Regions from separate parts of the Homo sapiens genome. Here regions 1, 2, 3 and 4 are each linked to region 5. The links are contacts of gene promoters, found by promoter capture Hi-C in blood cells and fetal thymus (Javierre and others, 2016). All regions are on one chromosome and are shown on one strand. The core of a region is centred on a gene start or on the middle of the fragment in contact, and the rest is flanking DNA. Distances in the headings are between cores, read along the strand shown.

Region 1 (4,834 bases), core at 824-3,323, 560 kb after region 5:
CAGTGACATGTTTTGACTTTTTTTCAGGTTAATTTTTTAACTACACCAGAAAACTGGTTTGATTAATGTTTACTGGAGTGAATAAAAGCAAATATAGTAAGCTCACATTGAGCGTCATCAGGATGTGAGGTTTTCCAGATAGGCTATTTTTTTAGTTAATGGAAACGTAGTTTTAAGTATTAAGATTTTATAAAAATATCTTCATTGCTGAACATATGCAACATAATGTCACTTTATTTTCAGTATTGGTTTGTCATTATGATACAATACTGATGCCTTAGGGCAGCTGCAGCTGTGCTTACCCTTTTTCCTTCCTTCCCCTTCTAAATATGTGGTTTCTTGTCCTTTATGATTTTAGAGAGTAGTTACGATTGTGCCTAATATAGGAACTGATAGGTAAGAAGAAGAACTTTTATGAGCCATGGTCTTTGTGACATTTACTGTGATTATTTAGAGATTCTTTTAATCCTTATCTGTTACCTCTTCCACCTCACCGCCCTTGAGTTCTTCGCAGTCTGGCATAGTCTGGATAGGTGATTTTTAGAGAAATGAGGCTTGATTTTTTTGTAATAGGTGAATTCTGCATATTTGGTATATAGTTTTGCAACAAAAGAGGTGTCACCAAAATCAAGAAGTATTTACATTTTTGTGAAAAGCGTGTGGATTTTATTCTTACATTTTATTTTAACAACTTAAGTACCATCATGTATTTTATCAAGCAGTATATACTTTTTAAATTGGAAACATTGTTGTGTGTAACTTGCCATGTTTATAACATTTAAGTTAATGGTTACAACTGATGGATTTGAAATATTGTGTTATTAAACTAGAAATTTGTATGAAATGATATATAGTTAAAGGTTATATTACAATATATTTTAAAATTTAATACTTTTACAGATTAAGATTTTGATGACTTCAATTTAATTTTTTAAATTTGGTCTAAGTTTAAATATGTTTATTCAGGTGGGTGATCATCATTTTATCTTTACTGTTGGAGAATAAAGGTTTTGGAAGATCATTGCCGTTTTGTTTTAAACATGTGAGAGCTAAGCAGTTTTTATAAAGGCCAATTTCCTAATAGGATTTATTTTTGGTTTTATTAGTGGGCAAATGGCATCTACCTGTACATTCTGGTTACAAGGGAGAGACTTATACTTTTGTTATAATAAGTTATGTGTGAAAGTGAATTTTACATATCTATATGTTTTATATGTATTTTGGCATGAGGTGGGAAGAACTAACTAAAAATTCAATTAAGATATTTAGCAATATAATCGGAGTAGAGTCTGTATTACTTTACTTTAAAAATTCAGGGTCTCTAAAAAATCCTTTGAAATAGTTATGAATTTTAATAGGACCATACTTAAAAATAATCAGCAAAAGATAAAGCCTCTTCTTAGGTAGTGCCCAAACTAGACAGAGAATGGGGGAAAAATCGGTTTTTGATTTATTCAGTCTATTATGTTAAACATTTTAATGTTTAGGTCTATACTAATTTAGACGTGTTTTGTTTTATTTTGAAATAAAAAGCATTATTTGTAAACTTGGAAATTAATGTAAATGTATAATTTGAAAGAAATGAGATGGCTAGGTCAGTAATACTTCTTCAGTCAATGAAATAATTATTCTAACCTGAAATAGCAACATCTGGTCAAAGCAAAATTAGTAAATAAAGTTCTTGAGTCATGACACAACATATGATGTGTCTGTAATATTACCACCCAAGTTTTACCCAATTTTTTCCTGTTACTCAATGATACATGTTTTTACTCACATTTAAATACATAAATTTTACTCTACAAGGACTGTGTTAACAATTGGTTCCGGTTTTCTGATTATTATATTATCTCCTACTCTCTATAATTTAATAATGTTATAGTTTTTTGGTTTTATTTCATGTATAATATGACTTTTTAAAACTACTAGATAAATTGAAAGTTTAGTTGTGCTTCGTATTTTAGAAGAATTCACTTAATGAAAATTCTTTCCTAACAGTCATCCCCTCCGCACAAGATAAACTGCCCAAATTATTTAGGTGATCATTGTTGGTACTGTGATGTCATAGAATGAACCAACTCAGTGGCAAGGACTTGATTATGGCTTTGTTAGAACTAAATGTTGTAGGTATCTAATTTAAACAAGATAAGGAAATTTATGCACAGAAAATGTACTTATTTGTATGAGGTGGAAATATATATAATTTGACTTTTTTTTTTTTTTTTTTTTGGTCTCGCTGTGTTGCTCAGGCAGATCTTGAACTCCTGGGCTCAAGTGATCCTCTTGCCTCTGCCTTCTGGGTAGCTGGGATTACAGTTTCGTGTCACCACCCCTAACTCTAATTTGACTTTTTAGATATATTTCAAAGCACTTGGAAAATTTGTGTTTTACAATATCAGTTGTTTGATTTCACTTTCTAAATGGTTATCGTCTCTCAAAACCCCTTATGGTCATTTGCAGACACAAAACTCAGAATCTCAGAATCACTTAACAGACTTGATGTGTTCTATTCTGGTAAATGTGCTAGAGTTGAGATTGATACCCTTAGCTTCTTTGATAGACTGCATTACAGAGGTGCATAGACTGAATTTCTTACTGTGCTGCTATTAATGCATCTAGAGCCTGAAGACTGTTGTAGAGTTAGGCTTTAACTGTTAGCTCTCTTGATATTGGAGATGATAGGAATTTTTAGGCGACAGGAAAAAGATGAGACAATGAGCATACAATGGGGGCATAAGCCCCAGCTGTTCTTATATTTGTTTGTTTTTTTGAGACAGGATCTCGCTCTGTTGCCCAGGCTGGAGTGCAGTGGCCTGATGACAGCTCACTGCAGCCTGGACCTGCCAGGCTGGAGATATCCTCCCACTTCTCAAAGTGCTGGGCTTACAGGCCCTTAATTTTCTAACTTGTAGGAATGGTTTGTGGTTCTGAGAAGTCAATTTGTAACAGTTTAGGAAAATTTAGGCTTAGAAATCTGGTGAATTTATTAAAGAATTAATGTCATTATTAAACTGCTTTGCTGATTATAATAACAAATGAGATTCTCTTCCTTAAATGATTTTGTATGAAAACATGTGGGTTGGGGTTTACTTTGTTACGTTGTGATACTCTTACCAGCTATGATTGTAAGGATTCAACTTTTGATGTGACTATCTTTTATAATCTGTGTCTGTGATGTGATAAAAGTTGACCATCCATGTTTGCCTGAAATACAAGACTTTCAGTTTTAAGACTGATAGTCCTGGGCAAACTGGGACAAATTGGTCTCCTAAATTTGTTGTCCACAAAGGCTAATCCAGAGAAAGAGACAATTACAGTTTTGCTTATAATTTGGTTATCAAAACGAGTTGTTTCGCTTGAAGACAGACTCAGCTTGTTTACTAGTGTTAGTATATGAAAACACATAGGTTTCTTTGTCAGGATTTAAATATGCTGGCAAGAAATGTAGTTACCAATCAATCTTGAGGTGCACATGGCTTTGTTTTGGCTCTTTGAATGCCACCCATTTGCTAGCATTATGGCAGGTGAGTTTATATCATTATCAAATTTTCTTCAGCAATCTGCTGTAAAACATTCCAGTTAAGGAAACCACAGCTCAAGGAACGCAAATGATTTCTGAAGGTCATGTAACTGGTAGATAGCAAAGGCAGATTTGGATTTTAGGATTCCTGATTCTTAATTTCTTTCTTTCTTTTTTTTTTTTTGAGACATAGTCTCGCTCTGTCGCCCAGGCTGGAGTGCAGTGGCACAATCTCGGCTCATTGCAAGCTCCGCCACCCAGGTTCACGCCATTCTCCTGCCTCAGCCTCCCAAGTAGCTGGGACTACAGGCGCGCGCCGGCCACCACACTCGGCTGATTTTTTTGTATTATTAGTAGAGACGGGGTTTCACCATGTTGGCCAGGATGGTCTTGATCTCCTGACCTCATGATCCGCCTGCCTTGGCCTCCCAAAGTGCTGGGATTACAGGTGTGAGCCACTGCGCCCGGCTGTGATTCTTAATTTCTAGTAGTTTCTCATGAGAGTTAATAATAGGTATATAAACTGGTTTCTAGTTAATATGGTAAGATCAAAAAAGAAGAGCATCCCTGGTGGCCTTTTAGTCATATAAGCCACTGTTGATGGTTAAATGTTTTCAGAGGGTCTAATTTTGAAAATGTTGATGAAAAGATATGAACTTCATTTCACTTTAGAAAAATGCAGGTACACCAACTTTTGAATACTCAGATAATGAGTTCCTCTGTTCTAAGGAGATGTTAGTTGTCTAGAATTAATGCTTATTTGTCTTAACTCTGTTTTCATAAGCAGTGTGTAGGAATAGTTAGAGAAAGTAAAATAGCTTGATTTAGTGCAAGTTTTATTTTTAAAATGCCTTATCTGTTACTGTTAGTAAAGTTTTGTTTTGCTTGCCTCATTATGATATAATATTCTGAGATAATAATTTATTGCTACAAAATGATAGCAAGCATTATCTTATGTGTAACTTTTAATTAAATCCATATTCTTCAGGTAAAAAGAACGTATTTAACTTTTAATTAAATCCATGTTTCTTCAGGTAAAAAGAACGTATTCTCATGGTACTTACAGAGCTGGCCCAATGAGACAAATAAGCTTGGTGGGAGCAGTTGATGAAGAAGTAGGAGATTATTTCCCTGAGTTCCTTGACATGTTGGAAGAGTCACCATTTTTAAAAGTAAGAGACAATCTGTCATGGGATTAGAGTTTTTTTTTTAAAAAAGGGAAGAAAAACCAATATGAGTAATCTAAATTGTGATTGTTTCTTTCATGCTACATGCAATATAAATGAATGGCTGTTTCAGAAATAGAAACGTTTT
Region 2 (4,371 bases), core at 1,453-3,952, 590 kb after region 5:
CAGGCTGGTCTCAAACTCCTGACCCTCGTGATCCACCTGGCTTGGCCTCCCAAAGTGCTGGGATTACAGGCATGAGCCACCACGTCCCGCAGGTTAATCACTTTTAAAATTGCAGTAAGCTTGAACCCAAGGATAGATCTCTACTTCTTGAAGGTTTATACAAGTATTTTTCTTGGTGCTTGAAGGCTCTTTGTTGGCAGATTTGTGTTCATGTTTTACATGTTTGGTTGAGGCTACCATATCTGGTCCCTATGTTCATGAAATGTTACTAAGTTTTGGATCATTTGAATGTTTTTTTAAATTATTATTTTATTTTTTGAGAGGGAGTTTCACTCTTGTTGTCCAGGCTGGAGTGCCATGGTGTGATCTCGGCTCACTGCAACCGCTGCTTCCCAGGTTCAAGTGATTCTCCTGCCTCAGCCTCCTGAGCTGGTACTACAGGTGCCTGCCACCACACCCGGCTAATTTTTTCTATTTTTAGTAGAGACAGGGTTTTACCTTGTTGGCCAGGCTAGTCTCGAACTCCTGATCTCAGATGATCCACCCGCCTTGGCCTCCCAAAGTGCTGGGATTACAGGTATGGGTGTGGGCCACCGCACTCAGCCATTTTTTTTTTTTTTTTTTTGAGACAGAGTCTCACTTTGTCACCCATGCTGGAGTGCAGTGGCATGATCATAGCTTACTGTAATCTTGAATTCCTGGGTTCAAGCGATCCTCCCACCTCAGCCTTCCATGTAGCTGGGACCACAGGCGTGAGCCACTGCACTCGGCCCCTTGTCATAGTTTCAAGTCTTATAAAAAGTTATTTTGTGCACAGGTTGCTTTTACTCAGATTGTTGATGACAAATCTTTTGCCCAAACCAGAGTGAGTTACATCCATGCTAACCTAGAAAAAATCGGCTTTGGTAAGAACCTCTGATGTTTAAGTTTCTTTCATGAGGCATTGTGTGTTTAATCTTAAAAAACGTCATTGGTAAATATCTCTGTAATACAAAGGAAGAATCCTATAACTAAAACCTAGGAAGGTATTTTTGTACAATACTAATTGTTTACATATTAGTCCATTTGTTTTGATTTTTCTACCTGTAAGCATGATTTCTATCTTTAATGTCTTTCATTACGTAATGTTTTAATGTAACACACTGATGTGTGTATTGCACATATCCATGATAATTTATTGTGCTGCTTCAAGTGTTTATTTAGTGCGGCAGTTCTACTTTCTGGGAATCCTTCAGATGCTGTTAAAATTCATTGACGCTTGTGTAAACAGGTCGGTTATTGTGTTGCAGTTTACATACAATTCTTACTTAATCTCTCTCTTCCTTCCTCGTAGAACTGTTTGGGGGAGCAAGAGACCTGTTCTACCTTTCCTCTTAACGTCTCATACAGAATTCCATTATGCTTTTATTGCCTAGCACAGGGGTCAGCAAATTACCTCCTGTAGGCCATATCTAACCTACCACCAGTTTTTCTATTGTGTGTGAGGCAAGAATGGTTTTTATGCCATTAAATGGTTGAAACAAAAGTAAAAATATTTTGTGATGTGAAAATCATTTGAAATTTAAATTTCATGTCCATAAATAAGGTTTTATTGGGATATAGCCATGGTCTGTGGCTGCTTTCTCTGCCATAAGGACTGAGTTCAGTAGTTGCAAAAGAAACCACATCACCTAAAAGCCTAAATATTTACTGAGAAGCCCTTTACAGAGAAATTTTGCTGACTCCTGGCCTAGCTGATTGTTTGCTGTGGTGCCATCCCTTCTTTTCCTTTTCCCTGTACTCCAAAATCCTCTTGGCTGGTTTCTTAGAGAGATGTAAGCTTTCTTCTACTTTGAATTTATTTAACGATAGATCCCATAAACCAAAGTATGCATCTCTCAATTGAGTTAGAGGTATCTGATCAAGCCTGGAACATTCCGTTCCCAGTACTAACTGTTCTCAATCCTATTTTTACATACTGAAAATCCTAATTATTGTCAATTATAAGATGAAAACTTTGCAGTTGATTAGTTTTTATTTATTTAGCCTAGCTCTCTAGTTTCAAATGCCTAATGAGTTAAGCTGTATTAATCTGTTGTATTGTGAAACTTATGTTATCTGTCATTACAAGGGAGAACTAGACCTTCTGTATCAGTAGCCAGAAATCACTTTTTTGTTTGATTTTTTTAAAACGGAGAAAAAATCACTTGAGGTTTCTCTTAAAGCTAAAAGTGAGGGTTGCATAGGGTAAGAACAATCATCGTGCTTCAGGGTTATAAGACACTTCAACCTCTTTGGAATTTTTATAAGTACTGTCACCTCTGCTTCATTGGAATTGATTAGTACCTTGGGAGGGTGATAATATGCTTTCTCAATTCAAGACACTTCTAATTGTGAGGGGGCACTAATTCCTTGAGACCCCAGGACAATAGGTATATAAACTGGGCCTGTCCTGACAGAATCAGGATTATAGGGTCTCCCTAACTTTAGGAAGTGGCAGGCTTCTGCTGTTTGTTTTTGTTTTTGTTTTTTTTTTTTTTGAGATGGAGTCTCACTCTTTTGCCAGGCTGGGGTGCAGTGGTGTGATCTCAGCTCATTGCAACCTCCGCCTCTGGGGTTCAAGCGATTCTCCTGCCTCAGCCTCCTGAGTAGCTGGGACTACAGGCGCCCACCACCATACCCAGCTAATTCTTGTATTTTTAGTAGAGATGGGGTTTCACCATGTTGGCCAGGATGGTCTTGATCTTTTGACCTTGTGATCTGCCCGCCTTGGCCTCCCAAAGTGCTGGGATTACAGGCGTGAGCCAGTGCGCCTGGCTTTTCTGCTCTGTTTTAACATGCCACCTCTAAATTATTTGTCCCAACCAGAAGGTAGAGGTAATAGTGAATTTAGCCTAGATAAAAATCTGTCAAACTCAGATTCTTTCTAAATGTAAATACGAAGTGGCATCCCTGTTTCAGGTTTTTTTTCCTTCATAATTTAGAAACACAAATGGCCATTTACTTTGGTCATAATACAGCCATGGTATATTAAACTTCTATTAAAAAATGTAGGTTTTGTTTTGTTTTTGAGACGGAGTCTAGTCCTATTGCCCAGGCTGGAGTGCAGTGGTGTGATTTTGGCTCACTGCAACCTCCACCTCCCGGGTTCAAGTGATTCTCCTGTCTCAGCCTCTCAAGTAGCTGGGATTACAGGCGCCCGCTACCATGCCTGGCTAATTTTTGTACTTTTAGTAGAGACAGGGTTTCACCATGTTGGCCAGGCTGGTCCTGAACTCCTGACCTCAAGTGATCCACCCGCCTCAGCCTCCCAAAGTGCTGGGATAACAGGTGTGAGCCACCTCGCCTGGCCCAAACATGTAGGTTAAAGGTTTTATATTTAGTTACTTTAGATATTGACCACATACAACAGATTATTCAAGAGTCATGTAGAAAAATGAGGTCCAAAACAAACTTTATTTACATAGAGATAATAAGGATCTCAATAACTCAAATGCTGAATAATTAAGCTGTAGGTTGACTAGAAGTCCGTGATTCACCAATCCTGTTTTATGGAAGTAGTATAAAACTACATTTGGTATTTTCCCTCAGTTCTCTGGTATTCTTGAAGCTTGACAGATTCAGAACACTTTAATGGTAACTTGTTGAACAGCAATAGAAAGGAGATGATGTACTTAGAAGTCAGTCTCTCACAAAAAAGACATTATATCCGAGTTCTGTTAAAGCCCCAGCCAGCAAGGCCCATAAAGGAATGAAGACATAGGATAGATTCATGGTAGTAAACTGTTCCAGTTTAGCACAGAGTGCGAGGCAGAAGGCTAATTTAAGTAACATTGCAATGAGGTACCAGGCTTTTTTTTTAATATTGTGTGATCCATGTCGAGGGTCAAAGCCAGACTTACACCGCCCAGCCATTTTCACAATCAGCAGGACAAGAAGGATAGTATCAAATATCCAGACTGGAATGAATATGAGGAACCAGTTCCAAGGTGCTTTCTCATCCAGTTTCAACACCAACATGATCAAGAAGAGTAGTGTGAAAAGCCAGGTGAGTAGTACTCTCTGAGCCAAGGACATTCTCATTTAAACAGTTTAAAGAGGCTGTTGCAGGATCGGAAAAAAGGAAATATACCCTAAGAGAAGGAGAAAAAGTCAAGATTGTTTTGATACCAGAAAAAAAGTATCACTTCCATTCCTAATGAACAAAACTGGTTCTTTCCCAACTGACTTCCTAATTTTGAAAACATTCTACTATTCTTCCTTTCAAATCCTCTAAAACTTAGTGATCATTGACATTATATCCACCATTCCTTACAGCCCATGACAAAATACAATTTTTATTATATCTACTGTATAAGCTCTATTCAAAATGTCAGGTGATTCCTTTTCAGT
Region 3 (4,571 bases), core at 6-2,505, 620 kb after region 5:
TTGGGTTAATATTCTCCTTTCTCTACTATTGCTGTCTGCTGTCTCGGATCTGCTAGGTCAGTTACAAGTCACATATCTTCTTTCAAGCTTCATTTTTGTTGTTTTTTTCCGTTCTCTCTGTTCTCATGTATGTATGCGTTTGCTGTCATTTCAGTTAGATATTGTAAGGTAGTAAAGTTAGATGCTTGTGTTTAGTCTGGCTTTTTGTATTCTCTTGGAAATTTGGTTATTCTTTTTATATATTGGAATAACTTTTTTTTTTTCTTTGAGACAAGAGTCATGATCTGTCGCCCAGGCTGAAATGCAATGGTGCAATCTTGGCTGGCTGCAATCTCTGCCTCCTAGGTTCAAGTGATTCTCGTGCCTCAGTCTCTCAAGTAGCTGGGATTACAGGTGCGTACCACAATGCCTGGCTAATTTTTGTATTTTTAGTAGAGATGGGGTTTCACCATGTTGGCCAGGCTGGTCTCAAACTCCTGACCTCAAGTGATCTGCCTGCCTCGGCCTCCCAAAGTGCTGGGATTTCAAGAGTGAGCCACCATGCCTGACATGAAATAACTTTTAATAGTTTGCCTGTTTATAGTACATGGGTCCAGGACAGATACATGTTTCATTTTGCTCAATTCAATTACATTATTTTAAAAAACTACTTTTATTAATTGACACATAATGTACATATTTGAGGGGTACATAATGATGTTTCAGTACATGTAATGTATAGTGATCAGATCAGAGTAATTGACGTATACATTATTTCAAACATTATTTCTTGTAGCTATTTGCAACTATATATTATTGTTAACTATAGTCATCCAACAGTGGTATAGAACACTAGAACTTATTCTTCCTATCTAACTGTGATTTTGTAACCTTTCACAAATCTCTTCTGATCTCTCTCTTCCTTATGCCCCTCCCAGTCTCTGGTATCCTCCATTCTACTTTTTACTTCTATGAGATCAGCTTTTTAGCTTCTACTTATGAGTGAGAACATGCAGGGTTTAACTTTCTGTTCCTGGCTTTTTTCGCTTAACATGATGTCCTCCAGTTCCATCCATGTTGCTGCGAATGACAGGATTTGATTCTTTTTATGGCAAAACAGTATTCCACTGTCTGTAGACCCCATTTTCTTTATCCATTCATCTGTTGTTGGGCATGTAGGTTGATTCCATATCTTGACTATTGTGAATAGTGCTGCAATAAACATGGGGTACAGATGTCTCATCAATATACTGATTTTCTTTCCTTTGGATAAAATTCCCAGTGGTGGGATTGCTGGATCATATGGTAGTTCTATTAGTAGTTTTTTGAGGAATCTCCATGCTCTTCTCCATAGTAGCTGTACTAGTTTACATTCCTACCAAATGTGTAAGAGTTCCTTTTTCTCTGCATTCTCATCAGCATTTGTTATTTTCTTGTTTTTTTGACAGTAGCCATTTTAAGTTGATGAGATGGTATCTCATTATGGTTTTGATTTGCATTTCCCTGATGATTAGTGTATTAGTTCGTTCTCACGCTGCTAATAAAGACATACCTGAGCCTGGGTAATTTATAAAGGAAAGAGGTTTAATTGACTCACAGTTGAGCATGGCTGGGGAGGCATCAGGAAACTTAAAATCATGATGGAAGGGGAAGCAAACACATCCTTCTTCACATGGCAGCAGGAGAGAGAAGAATGAGAACCAAGCAAAGGGTGAAGCCCTTTATGAAACCATCAGATCTTGTGAGAACTTACTATCACAAGAATAGCATGAGGGAAACCACCCCAATGATTCAGTTACCTCCCACCAGGTCCTTCCCATGACACACGGGGATTGTGGAAACTACAATTTAAGATGAGATTTGGGTGGGAACACAGAGCCAAACCATATCAATTAGTGATGTTGGGCATTTTTAAATATGTTTATTCGCTACATGTATGTCTTCTTTTGAGAAATGTCTTTAGATTTTTTGCCCATCTTTAAATTGGATTGTTTGTTTTTTGATGTTAAAAAGTTTGAGTTCCGGGCCGGGTGCGGTGGCTCATGCCTGTAATCCCAGCACTTTGGGAGGCCAAGGTGGGTGGATCACGAAGTCAGCAGGTCGAGACCAGCCTGACCAACATGGTGAACCCCCATCTCTACTAAAAATACAAAAAAATTAGCCGGGCATGGTGGCGGGCGCCTGTAATCCCAGCTACTTGGGAGGCTGAGGCAGGAGAATCTCTTCAAACTGGAAGGTGGAAGTTGCAGTGAGCCGAGATTGCACTACTGTACTCTAGTCTGGGCAATGAGAGCAAAACTCCGTCTCAAAAAAAAAAAAAAACAACAGTTTGAGTTCCTTGTATATTCTGGCTATTAATTCCCTGTCCCATGAATAGTTTGCAAATATTTTCTCCTAGTCTATAGGTTATCTTTTTACTCTGTTGATTGTTTCCTTTGCTATGCAAAAGCTTTTTGTTTTTATATAATCTCATTTATTTTTGCTTTTGTTGCCTATGTTTTTGAGGACTTATTCATAAAATCTTTTCCCAGAAACCAATGCCCTGAAGCATTTCTGCTGTTTTCTTTTAATAGTTTTGTAGTTCTGGGTTTTACATTTAGGTCTTTGATTCATTTTGGGGTTGATTTTTGTATAGGATGAGAGATGGGCATCTAGTTTCATTCTTCTGCATATCCAGTTTTCCCAGAAGTATTTATTGAAGAGGCTATCCTTTCCTCAATGAGTGTTCCTGACACCTTTGTCAAAAATCAGTTAACTGTAGATACATGGATTGATTAATTTCTGGGTTCTCTATTCTGTTCCACTGATCTATGTGTCTGTTTTTATGCCAGTACTATGCTGTTTTGGTTACTACGGCTTTGTAGTATATTTGAAAGTCTGGTGGTGTGATGCCTCCTCTTTGTGCTCAGGATTGCTTCAGCTATTCAGAGGCTTTTGTAGTTCCATATGTATTTTGGGATTGTTTTTTCTGTTTCTGTGAAGAAAGTAATTGTTATTTTGACATGTGCATTGACTCTGTAGATTTCTTTGGGTTGTGGGGTCACTTTAATAATATTCTTCTGATCCATATGCATGAGATGTCTTTCATTTGTTTGTATCCTCTTCAGTTTCTTTAATCAGCATTTTATAGTTTTCCTATAGAGGTCTTTCACCTCCTTGTTTAAATTTATTCCTAGGTATTCTTTTGTTGTTGCTGTAGTAAATAAGATTGCCTTTTTTATTTCATTTTCAGCTAGTTGATTGTTTGTGTTTAGAAATGCTACTGATTTGTGAATATTGATACTGTATCTTGCAATTATACTGATTTCATCTATCAGTTCTAAGAGTTTTTGGTATAGTCTTTAAGTTTTTCTATATATAAGATTGTGTCATCTGCAAATAGACATTTTGACTTCCTCCTTTTCAACTTGGTTGCCTATTATTTCTTTCTCTTGACTAATTGCTCCAACTAGGACTTTCAGTAGTATATTGAATAAGAGTTGTGAAAGTAGGCATCCTTGTCTTGTTCTAGTAGTCAGAGGAAACACTTTTGGCTTTTTCCTAGTCAGTATGATGTTAGCTTTGGCTTTGCCATATATGGCCTTTATTATGTTGAGATATTTTCCTTCTATCCCTAATTTGAGAGGTTTTAATCATGAAAGAATGTTGACTTTTATCAAATGCTTTTTCTGTATCTATCAAGATGACCATATGGTTTTTGTCTTTTATTCTATTGGTGTGATGTATGATGTTTATTGATTTGTATTTGTTGAACCGTCCTTGCGTTCCTCAGATAAATTCCCCTGAATCATGATGTATTATCTTTTTGATGTGTTGTTAGATTTGGCTTGCTAATATTTTGTTGAGAATTTTTATGTGTATGTGCATCGAATATATTAGCCTGCAGTTTTCTTCTTTTTGTTGTCTTCTTGTCTAGTTTTGGTTTCAGGGTTATCCAGGCCTCATAGAATGAGTTAGGAAGAATCAGTCTGCTTCAATTTTTTGGAATAATTTGAGAAAAATTGATATTAATTCTTCCCTAAAGGTTCAGTAAAATTCAGCTGTGAAGCCATCCAGTCCTGAACTTTTCTTTTATGGGAGACTTTTTGTTTTGTTTTGTTTTGAGATGGTGTTTTGCTCTTGTTGGCCCAGGCTGGAGTGCAATGGTGTGATCTCGACTCACTGCAACTTCCGCCTCCCAGGTTCAAGTGATTCTCCTGCCTCAGCCTCCTCAGTAGCTGGAATTACAGGCATGCACCACCACACCCGGCTAATTTTGTATTTTTAGTAGAGACTGGGTTTCGCCATGTTGGTCAGGCTGGTCTCAAACTCTCGACCTCAGATGATCTGCCCTCCTCGGCCTCCCAAAGTGCTGGGATTACAGGCGTGAGCCACCGCACCCGGCTTGGGAGACATTTTATTACTGATTCAATCTGGTTACTTGTTATTGGTCTGTTCAGGTTTTCTGTTTCTTCCTGGTTCAATCTTGGTAGGTGTTACGTGTCCAGGAACTTATCTAGTTTCTCTAGGTGTTCAAATTTATTTGTGTATAGTTGTATGTTTTTTTGTTTTATTCTGTTTTGTTTTTTTAGACAGGGTCTCACTGTCTCCCA
Region 4 (4,582 bases), core at 899-3,398, 840 kb before region 5:
CTCATCTAGTGGAATATGAAGTGCTCGATTCCACCTGGCTTATCGGCTAATTTCTGCATTACCTTGGATAAATGCCATTTGCACACTCCCTACCAGCCCTTAGGTGCATTGCAGCCTCTGTGTCATTGTGTGTGACATCACTTGGTTGCTATGGATATAGGTGCGAGGTCACTCGCTTTCCTGTGGAACTAGAAATATGGAAAAGAAATATGGAAAAATTATAAGAGTCTAAATAACACGAACTGAAGATATTTCCAATACTGATACCTATTAGAAGTGCAACTTACATCATTTAAGCATTAAAACCTTGTAAGACAGCAACTGTGGCCACAGCAGTATTCCGAATTTCAGAATCAGTTCTCTTCAATAAGACAAAAACCTTTCTTTGTTAACATAGCTGCTTTAAATATAAAGGTATCAGCATTGTCCTCTTTTGAGAACCAGTAAATTTATTCAAGAATTGATCTGTAATATCAATAATGCTTCATTTAAAAGATGTAACACGCAAGGTACACTCCAGCATCCACTTCACAATGGAGATGAATTTGAAAATCTTTGTTACATAAGGCAGGAAATTAAATATTAAGATAGTGGGGGCCCGAAATCATTAGATTAATTTTCTACCTTTCATTTCATAATGCTCAATACTTCCCCCTCCTCTAATATCAAACTGGTTGACAGCCCATTAGATAAATGTGGTGTTACTGACAAAATGGTGCAATACAGGGATGAATCTGCAACCCAGACAAAATGCGACAACTGGCGATCGGTATTCTCTTTTCATCAGCATGAAGATGTACTCGCTTAAACAAAAAAAAGCCTCAGATGCATCTAACAACCAAAAATTTTTAAAAAGACTTTTTCCCCTTTAAAATAACTCCTCCCAGCCTCCACCCAGTCTAGGCTCTCTGCAATATGACAAATGCAGAATCTTCTGGAATGACTTGATACTGCCTCTCACCACGGCTTTGTTTGCACTATCAGATCAGACAGAATATTTTTTCCCCCAACTTATAGGAATTTCAACAGACGCGTGCCTGTATTCAAAAAAGAAACGGCATATGTCACACGAATCGAACCAGTCAGCTACATTCACCACCTTTTAATTTTACAGGCAATACCTACCCTTTTCAATACAAAAACATTAGGGAATAAAATGGAGATGACATGTTGAGAATGATCAATGAAAACGCTAGCGAGACAAACGTTCTCCCTTCCTAAAAGCCGGAGGACTTGCTTTGGGCGAATGGAGAAAGAAGAGCCTTTTGTTAAGAAAAACGTGAGCAAGGTGGTTTCGATTTTGCACCACGGAGCTCAGGTTTTCAAGAGACCCTATACAATGTTTCTGGGAAGATTCTCAGGGATGTGTCGGGACAGACAGTGGGGAAGATTCTGGGGGGGCTGGGGAGGTGGAAAACCGGGAGACCTGCTGAGTGAATGGGAAAGGCGCCGCCCAGACACCAGGGAGAGAAAGAGGAACCGCATCCATGCGGTCCCCCGCCCCCACGCCCAGGCTAGGAGGAGGGGGGAAGTGGGGCACAAAGGATGCGCACGCCTCCCCGCTCGGGTCCCCTGCACCCCTAGAGCCGCGGGGGCCGGAGACCCCGCTCCCAAGTCCAGCCCCGCGGGACCTCGCCCCGGCCCGCGCCCGCGCCGGGCCTGAATGGCAGCGCCGCGGGGCCACGGGGACTCCGAAAAGAGGCCGCGTCACAGCCCGGGTTCCCGTCGCCTCTCGGGACCCTCCCCAGCCCCCCTCAGTGAGCGAGACGGGGCGGTCAACCCGCCATCGCGACAGGGCGACGAAGCCCCGGGCCTTCCACGCCAAGGACCGCGTCTTCGGAGGGGCAGGGAGCGGCGGGGGAGGGGAGGAGACACTCACGTTCTTCATGGCCGCGGCCATGTCGTCGTAGCGCTCCGCCTGCTCGGCCAGCCGGGCTTTCTGCACCAGTTGCTCGCGGTCCACCATCTTCGCGGGGCTGGGTCTGGCCGGAGAAGGAGGAGGACACTGGGGCGGCCTGAAGGGCTTGGAGGGCGCGACTGGAGCCCAAGTGCCGGAGAGGACCGACCCACAGAGCGAGCAGCTGAGGCGGCGGCTGCGCGGAGGAGGCGGCTGGAGCTGCGACCGCGGGACCGGGCGCGAGGCGGCTGCGGCTGCTGTGCGTGCCACTGACGGACAACCCCCTGCGGCCCCGCCCACGCCGCATGACGAAGGCAGGCCCCGCCCACCCGTCCGCAAGCCCCGCCCATGCCCCGCCCGAGCCCGGCCGCGGCTAGAACTCCCCGCTCCCCAGCTGGGCTCACTGCGCGTCTTCCGGGCACCCCGTCCTTTCCCACTGCGCCCCCACTCTCCCCTTTTTTCACTTCACTCCCCAGTTCCCTCACCCCAGCTTCTCCAGTCGCCCCCTTACGCCTCCCCCTTGAGCCTCCCGCCCCGCCAGCCCTCGGACGCATGGGCCCCTGGGAGTTGTAGTGTAACCTGCAGTGCACTGAGGCGCTGAGGAGACCAAGGACAAAGGGGCGGTCAAGACTACAACTCCCAGCGGACATAGCGCGCAGGCGCAGGAGGACGGGGGGGGGTGCTTCGAATCCCGAGGCCGCTGGGGACCCCTGGCGGGGATCAGGGCTGCATCAGTCCCTGCGAGTGCTGATTCACCGCCCCGCCCCATATTCTCCGGGAAATTACGAGAGGAGGGGGCAGGGGCCTCAGTCCTAGACCCTGTTTCCGAGATCACGTAGCAGGTCGTGGTGGGGGAAGGACAGGAGGCGCGTCCATTGTAGATCCAGACTCTCAGTGTGGTGCCTGCCCGCGGGATGGCCGAATTAAGGGGCCAGACCCTGGGGACTGTCACCTCCACCCCCTACGAGCTTCCATTAAACCCCCCACCCCACCTTGAGGCTCTTGGGCCTGAATAGGTGAAAACATGGACGAACGACAAATACCGGCTGGCCACAGTGGTTGATTTCCAGAAAGGATGCAGCTGTCTGCTGGCTGACCCTGGAGAACCCCTTCTTCCTCTCCAGGGTGGAGTGCTAAAGATTGAGTTCAGCTACCAGGAGCCTACTCCACATCTAACTGGGCTGCGTCTAGGGCTTGGTTGTCCAGCCCTTCTCTCCCCTCCTAAGACATACATACCTACTGAGGTCACGCTGATATATTCTCGTTCATATTATTCCACATAGCTTGCAGATAGCATGGGTTTTTTTGCTTTGTTTTGCTTTTTTGTAGAGACGGGGGTCTAGCTTTGTTGCCCATGCTGGTCTCGAACTCCTGGGCTCAAGCGATCCTCACGCCTCGGCCTCCCAAGGTGCTGGGATTACAGATGTGAGCCACCATGCCTGCAGGCCTGATAGTTTTGACTGCACATTTTATTTACTTTATGTATTCAACAATTATCTATGAGAAGCTACTGTGTTCCAAGCCCTATTCTAAGCCACGAGGTACAGTAGTGAACAAAACAGACAAAAATCCCTGCCCAAGAAAATAGGTGAGATATGTACAGTATGCTAGAAGTCAGTAAGGAGTGAGTTTTGAGGTTGCAGTGAGCTGAGATTGCGCCACTGCACTCCAGTCTGGCGACAGAGCAAGACTCCGTTTCAAAAACAAATAATAAAATAAAAAGTTTTTTAAAGGCTGGGCACGGTGACTCACACCTGTAATCCCAGCACTTTGGGAGACCGAGGCGGGCGGATGACAAGGTCAGGAGATCGAGACCATCCTGGCCAACATGGTGAAACCCTGTCTCTACAAAAAATACAAAAGAACTAGCTGGGCGTGGTGGTGCCCACCTGTTATCCCAGCTACTCGGGAGGCTGAGGCAGGAGAATCACTTGAACCCGGGAGTCGGAGGTTGCAGTGAGCTGAGATCCCTCTACTGCACTCCAGCATGGGTGACAGAGCGAGACTCCGTCTCGAAAAAAAAAAAGAAGTGAGCTTTGGCCTGGCACGGTGACTCACACCTGTAATCCCAACACTTTGGGAGGCCGAAGCGGGTGGATCATCTGAGGTCAGGAGTTCGAGACCAGCCTGGCTAACGTAGCAAAACCCCATCTCAACTAAAAATACAAAAATTAGCTGGGTGTGGTGGTGGGCACCTGTAATCCCAGCTACTTGGGAGGCTGAGGCAGGAGAATTGCTTGAACCTGGGAGGTGGAGGTTGCAGTGAGCCGAGATCGTTTCATTGCACTTCAGCCTGGGCAACAAGAGCGAAACTCCATATCAAAAAACAAAACAAAAAAAAAGTGAGCTTTGCAGACTCTGCTGCTGCCAGGAGTACTCTACTACTGGCCATGGTCAATCCCACCGTGTTCTTTGACATTACTATTGAGCCCTTGGGCTGCGTCTCCTTCAAGGTTAGGGGCATGGAAACCAAGAAGCCAAGTGACCTCTCCGGAGCTTGCAGTGAGCCGAGATTGTGCCAGTGCACTCCAGCCTGGGAGACAGAAAAAGACTCCGTCTCAAAAAAAAAAAAAAAAAAAGAAGTGACCTCTCATCTAAACTGTAAAGCCATGTTAACATATCGGAGCTGTTAGCAGACAGTGTTGTAAAGACAGCAGAAAACTTTCGTTCTCTGAGCACTGGAGA
Region 5 (4,497 bases), core at 699-3,198:
TAATCAGTTAACAAAGTTCTGTATGAATCAGACAGATATTTACTCCCAGATAGTTTTTATTAAAATGTGTGACAAATAAGGTAAGTTTAATATGAGATACCCTAAGGCATAAAAATCTATTCCTGTATATTTAGAGCTCAGAATATTCAGTTATTTCACCCAAAATGTTTAGGAGAAAAATAGACAATAGTCTTCATATCATGACAAGTTGCCATGCAGCATCTAATCTAATGTATACCCACTGATGTCACCTAAGCGGTGAACCTTGGATTCGCAGTGTGCCAGGTACATTCAGATGCAGGCTGCCAGGAGTATTACCAATAGAGGTCCTTGAAAATATGACCCTTCCCTCCTTCACTGGCAGATGCCCTGGGGATGGAGCATGCCTGAGATACTGTCTCTAAATGAAAGTGATCTCCGCCCTGTCCTTTCAACCTCACGTTCATGGTAAGTAGAGGTCCAAATGCGGAGATGGCTTTCCAAAGTATGAGACAGTCAGCAACAGTGGTCCCAGTGACTCAGGTGAAAAGCCAAGGTTTGGAGAGTCAATACCACTGTTAGTTCGTGGGTGGAGTAGGCGATTAAGTCTGTGGAATTTCACATGTATTTATTAAAGTTAATTCAAGTAATTTGGATGGTGAGGATGGGTTCTACTTCTATCTGCTTGAATTCTAACTTCAGGTAAAAGAGAAAGAAATATGAATACCTTCCCTTAGTGGCATGCTAAAACTCTCCCCTTAAAATATTTTTTGTGCCACTAGGTCTCAAAGCAAAAATTTGTGCACACATATGAAACTGCTTTTATTCCATCTGTAAACTCTCCCATTTTCTCCAGATATTTGGGATTAAGAACTAGATTACTTGCTAAAATCTTTCAAAGACCTCTTTAGCCATGAGAAGCGGCAGTCAGTCAATCACAAGAAAAACTGATTTCCAACAAACAAGGCACAATTGTGAACATCGCCTTATCTTTATTGTTTTCAAACACCTCATTGAAGAGACAAGTTAAATGCACTAAAACATCAAGAAATTCTCTCTACTTCTGCTTGCAAGTAGGTCTGGCATTAACAAATAAGATCTTAAAATTGAAAGTGACTTCCAGTGGATACAGAACTAACTATGATTTTTGTAATTAGGTCATATTTATGTGGTCATATTTGAGAAGATATTTATTTTTTCCTGTGCACCTTGATAAATAAAAGACTTAATCTGTCATCTATTTAACTTACTGACTCAGGTTAATGTTTATAGATACTCTCTAGCTGTATAACATTTATGAACATATGATAAGAAAACATTATTATACATACCTGGACGTGACTGTATTTGTTCTTGGCTGGGACACTTTGAACATTTGCCATCCAAACTATTGACAACAAATGTTAGATTTGCCACTTTGCTGTCAACATAATTTTCTATGTTGTTCATATTTACAAGATTCAGCTTCTCCAGGCGACCATGAAGTACATTGATCTCCTCTTTGGCATTCTTTAGCTCAGAGGACAGCTTGTTAACCTCACTCTCTAATTCTCTAACTCTGTTATCACCAACCTCTCCCGGGGCTCCTGTACTGGGTAACAACAGTCCGTTTCTGCCTGGGTCTCCGTTGTCATCAGCCTGCAGCTTGCAGTCTTGGCAAGATTTCTTTAGACTATTTACGATTTCCTTGAGGTTTTGGACTTCTTTGAACACCTCCTCGATCCTGCTGAATTGCTTCGGGAGCTGAATAGTCAAGGGGGGCAGGCTTACCTGGTAGGGGCACTCCCCTGCCTCTTCGCATTTCCCTCTGCTTTCTAGTCTCACTGGGCAGACATCCTTTGCTCTTTCATCTTTAATTTCCTCTGTTTCATTGTTTGCCACAACCAAAAAACCGTAAGTGGCAAGAACAGCTGAGCTCAGCCAGTACCAGTTAGCCAGCTTCATCTTTACAGTGCTGCTCACCCCAGCAGGGAGTGCGCAGGGCTGGAGCTGCTTTAATAGCGGCAGCTGCCTGAGTCAGGCTTTCTGTGTTCCCAGGAAAGGGTGGGAGCGTTTGCATCACAAGTTTTAGAAACGCACAGGAAGAGGAGATAGCCCTCATCAAACGCAGTTTGCCAAAAACTGTAACTTACTCTCAATAGAAATAATATGCATTGAAATTATTATAGTCAAATGTACACAGCCAACAAGATTCACTTTCATAATGTATTTTATGAAGTATAAGAAAAGTCTTGCATTTCTAAAGTAATTTGGTATACTTACGCTTGAAGTAAATAATTATACGTAACTTCACTGGAAAAACAGTTTTTAAAGATAAAAAGTAAGAGCTAGTTATCCAAACTGTCTATAGAACAGAAACGTTACTAAAATGAAAATGGTCCTTTTTCCTTCTTAGAATGGGGCATTGGGGAGCCTGTATTTTCTTCATGTTGGACTTTCAGGTGAAATCTTAAGCACTTTTAGAAGTTTCTAAGTGTAACAAAGTACAGCTTTCTGACTATTGCAGTTGACTTTTGCTTCATCTACTTGAAAAAGAGAAGAAAACTAGTGGAGAAAAAAGTGCTACTTTCTATTCCTTTGTCCGTAGCATAGTGTATATTAATGTCTAAATGTCTAAGACCCATTTAAAAGGACATAATTGTCTTTCATCAAAACCAGTAGCTGCCTCCTTTGCCCTTCGACATTTTGGTAATTGTACTGTCATCTTCCACAGCTGCTCAAATGTGAATCTTTGAGCTATGCCAGTGTCTGTCCTGAACTTCTCTTGCCTACAGCATCTTTGCCCTTTCTTTCTGCAGGTAGCCCTGGCAGGCGGGCCTCTTGCTTTCTGTCTCCACGCTGGTTCTTCTACCTGCTCTCTGGGCCACTTGGTATATCAGCTTGTTCAAAACATGTAGCATTAATGATAATAGTTTTCTAACTTTCTCTTCAGAGGCTGAAGGCAGGAAAGAGGAACAGCTTCAGTTAGAGAAACCACCTCCTTTTAATTTGTTTTGCATATTGACATCTCATAAGATTTCTTGTTTAAAAAGGGTTTTTTTGCTTTAAAAATAATTTCAAAATGACTGACATGGGCAAAAATCTAAATGTTTTATTGTATTACTTAAAACACTCTGTAGCCTATCTCATATTTATGTCTTTAACCTGATTTCCTATGACTTTTCTGTATATCCCCTTAATTTTAGCCAAATCCTATTCACATTCTCAAAATGTTGGCAGACTCTTTACTCTTCCATGACTGTATTTATTCTCGCATACTCAGGAGACCTGGCTTCCAACCCTAGATCTACCTCTGATCATGTAAACAGATCATCAGCTTTAATGAGCCTTTGTTCCTGTAGCTGTAGCGGAGGAATTTAGCTATTTCTTCCCTCATACAGGAATGATAGTCATGCAAACTTGGAGCACTTGGCTGGGCGTGGTGGCTCACGCCTGTAATCCCAACACATTGGGAGGCCGAGGCATGTGGATCACCTGAGATCAGGAGTTTGAGACCAACCTGGCCAACATGGTGAAACCCCATCTCTACTAAAAATACAAAAAAAAAAAAAAAAATTAGCCAGGTATGGTGGCGTGTGCCTGTAATCCCAGCTACTCGGGAGGCTGAGGCAGGAGAATCACTTGAACCCAGGAGGTGGAGGTTGCAGTGAGCCTAGATCGTACCACTGCACTCCAGCCTGGGCAATAAGAGTGAAACTCCATCCCCCAGCCCCACCCCTCACAAAAAAAGAAAAAAAAAACTTAGAGCACTTAAGAAAAAAAAAAATGCAGTGTATAAATGTAACATTCTTCCCAAATAAATTTGTCAAACATGTTCTACACACCTTATGACTTTTTTTCTTCCATCTTCATATAGCTCTTTCAAAAATTGTTTTTCTCTTCATTCCATTCAATATATCCAATTTTAGACAAAAACTTTTTAGCTAAAAATATCTATTTAATCCCCTAACTCCTAACCTCATTTCTTCTCACCTATTTTCAAGCTGTGACACTTCCCTGTTGGGAGGTAAGAAATAAATGAAACAATAGATAATTTTAAAAAGGAGACATGATGACAACATAGATAAAAAAAAAAACCATTTTGTAAAGTAGAAATATATAGGAATGATATTTAGTTCCTAGTCCTTAAGGATATTGTGAAATGTCCTTGACTGACTAGAGTATAAATCCCTGCATTTAGTTAGTAAAGTATTTATTAAGGATCTTCTGTATACTCAGCACTATGCTAGAGCATATATAAGATGCGTGCCACAGGCACTTTCATTCATTTATTCCTCATACATATATTGATATACTATATATTTATTCATCATAAATTGACTCTGCACCCTCTGCATGCAAAACCGCTATTCTAGGCACTTGGGCCACACTGGTGAACAAATCAGACAAAAATCCCTTTTTCCTTCTTAGAAAGGGGCATTAAAGACCTGGTATTTTCTTCACGTTGGACTTTGAAATGAAATCTTAAGTACTTTTTAAAGTTTCTAAACCTAACAGAAGTACAGCTTTTGGACTCTT

The links. The method cuts DNA at HindIII sites, captures the fragments that hold promoters and counts their contacts. A CHiCAGO score of 5 or more calls a contact.
Region 1: a fragment that was not itself captured here is called in contact with the fragment with the promoter of FGL2 in region 5 in 1 of 17 cell types (neutrophils); the score reaches 5.5 in neutrophils.
Region 2: a contact is called between a fragment that was not itself captured here and the fragment with the promoter of FGL2 in region 5, in 1 of 17 cell types (neutrophils). The highest score is 5.1, in neutrophils.
Region 3: a contact is called between a fragment that was not itself captured here and the fragment with the promoter of FGL2 in region 5, in 1 of 17 cell types (naive B cells). The highest score is 5.7, in naive B cells.
Region 4: the fragment with the promoter of YWHAG here is called in contact with the fragment with the promoter of FGL2 in region 5 in 7 of 17 cell types (neutrophils, naive CD8 T cells, fetal thymus and 4 more); the score reaches 9.7 in neutrophils.

The regions. Positions count from the first base shown.
Region 1 is chr7:77,760,941-77,765,774 of GRCh38, forward strand. RSBN1L (round spermatid basic protein 1 like) reads left to right here. Exons shown (of 8, transcript NM_198467.3): 4 at 4,555-4,692. Among named protein-coding and RNA genes, the nearest start is that of TMEM60, 35 kb to the right of the region's middle. RefSeq lists an enhancer at 3,323-3,823. The HindIII fragment of the contact is 5,069 bases long and covers 1-4,608 here.
Region 2 is chr7:77,790,312-77,794,682 of GRCh38, forward strand. TMEM60 (transmembrane protein 60) reads right to left here. Exons shown (of 2, transcript NM_032936.4): 2 at 3,417-4,112. The coding sequence starts at 4,062. The coding sequence ends at 3,661. Among named protein-coding and RNA genes, the nearest start is that of TMEM60, 5.9 kb to the right of the region's middle. The HindIII fragment of the contact is 1,770 bases long and covers 1,818-3,587 here.
Region 3 is chr7:77,815,825-77,820,395 of GRCh38, forward strand. The region is part of intron 1 of PHTF2 (putative homeodomain transcription factor 2); the gene reads left to right. Among named protein-coding and RNA genes, the nearest start is that of PHTF2, 19 kb to the left of the region's middle. The HindIII fragment of the contact is 2,341 bases long and covers 86-2,426 here.
Region 4 is chr7:76,356,843-76,361,424 of GRCh38, forward strand. YWHAG (tyrosine 3-monooxygenase/tryptophan 5-monooxygenase activation protein gamma) reads right to left here and starts at 2,149. Exons shown (of 2, transcript NM_012479.4): 1 at 1,880-2,149. The coding sequence starts at 1,966. RefSeq lists silencers at 1,280-1,470, 1,554-1,753, 2,074-2,483 and an enhancer at 1,578-2,224. The HindIII fragment of the contact is 9,671 bases long and covers 1-4,582 here.
Region 5 is chr7:77,197,871-77,202,367 of GRCh38, forward strand. FGL2 (fibrinogen like 2) reads right to left here and starts at 1,949. Exons shown (of 2, transcript NM_006682.3): 1 at 1,311-1,949. The coding sequence starts at 1,923. The region is part of intron 2 of CCDC146 (coiled-coil domain containing 146); the gene reads left to right. RefSeq lists a silencer at 1,540-1,649. The HindIII fragment of the contact is 5,002 bases long and covers 1-4,497 here.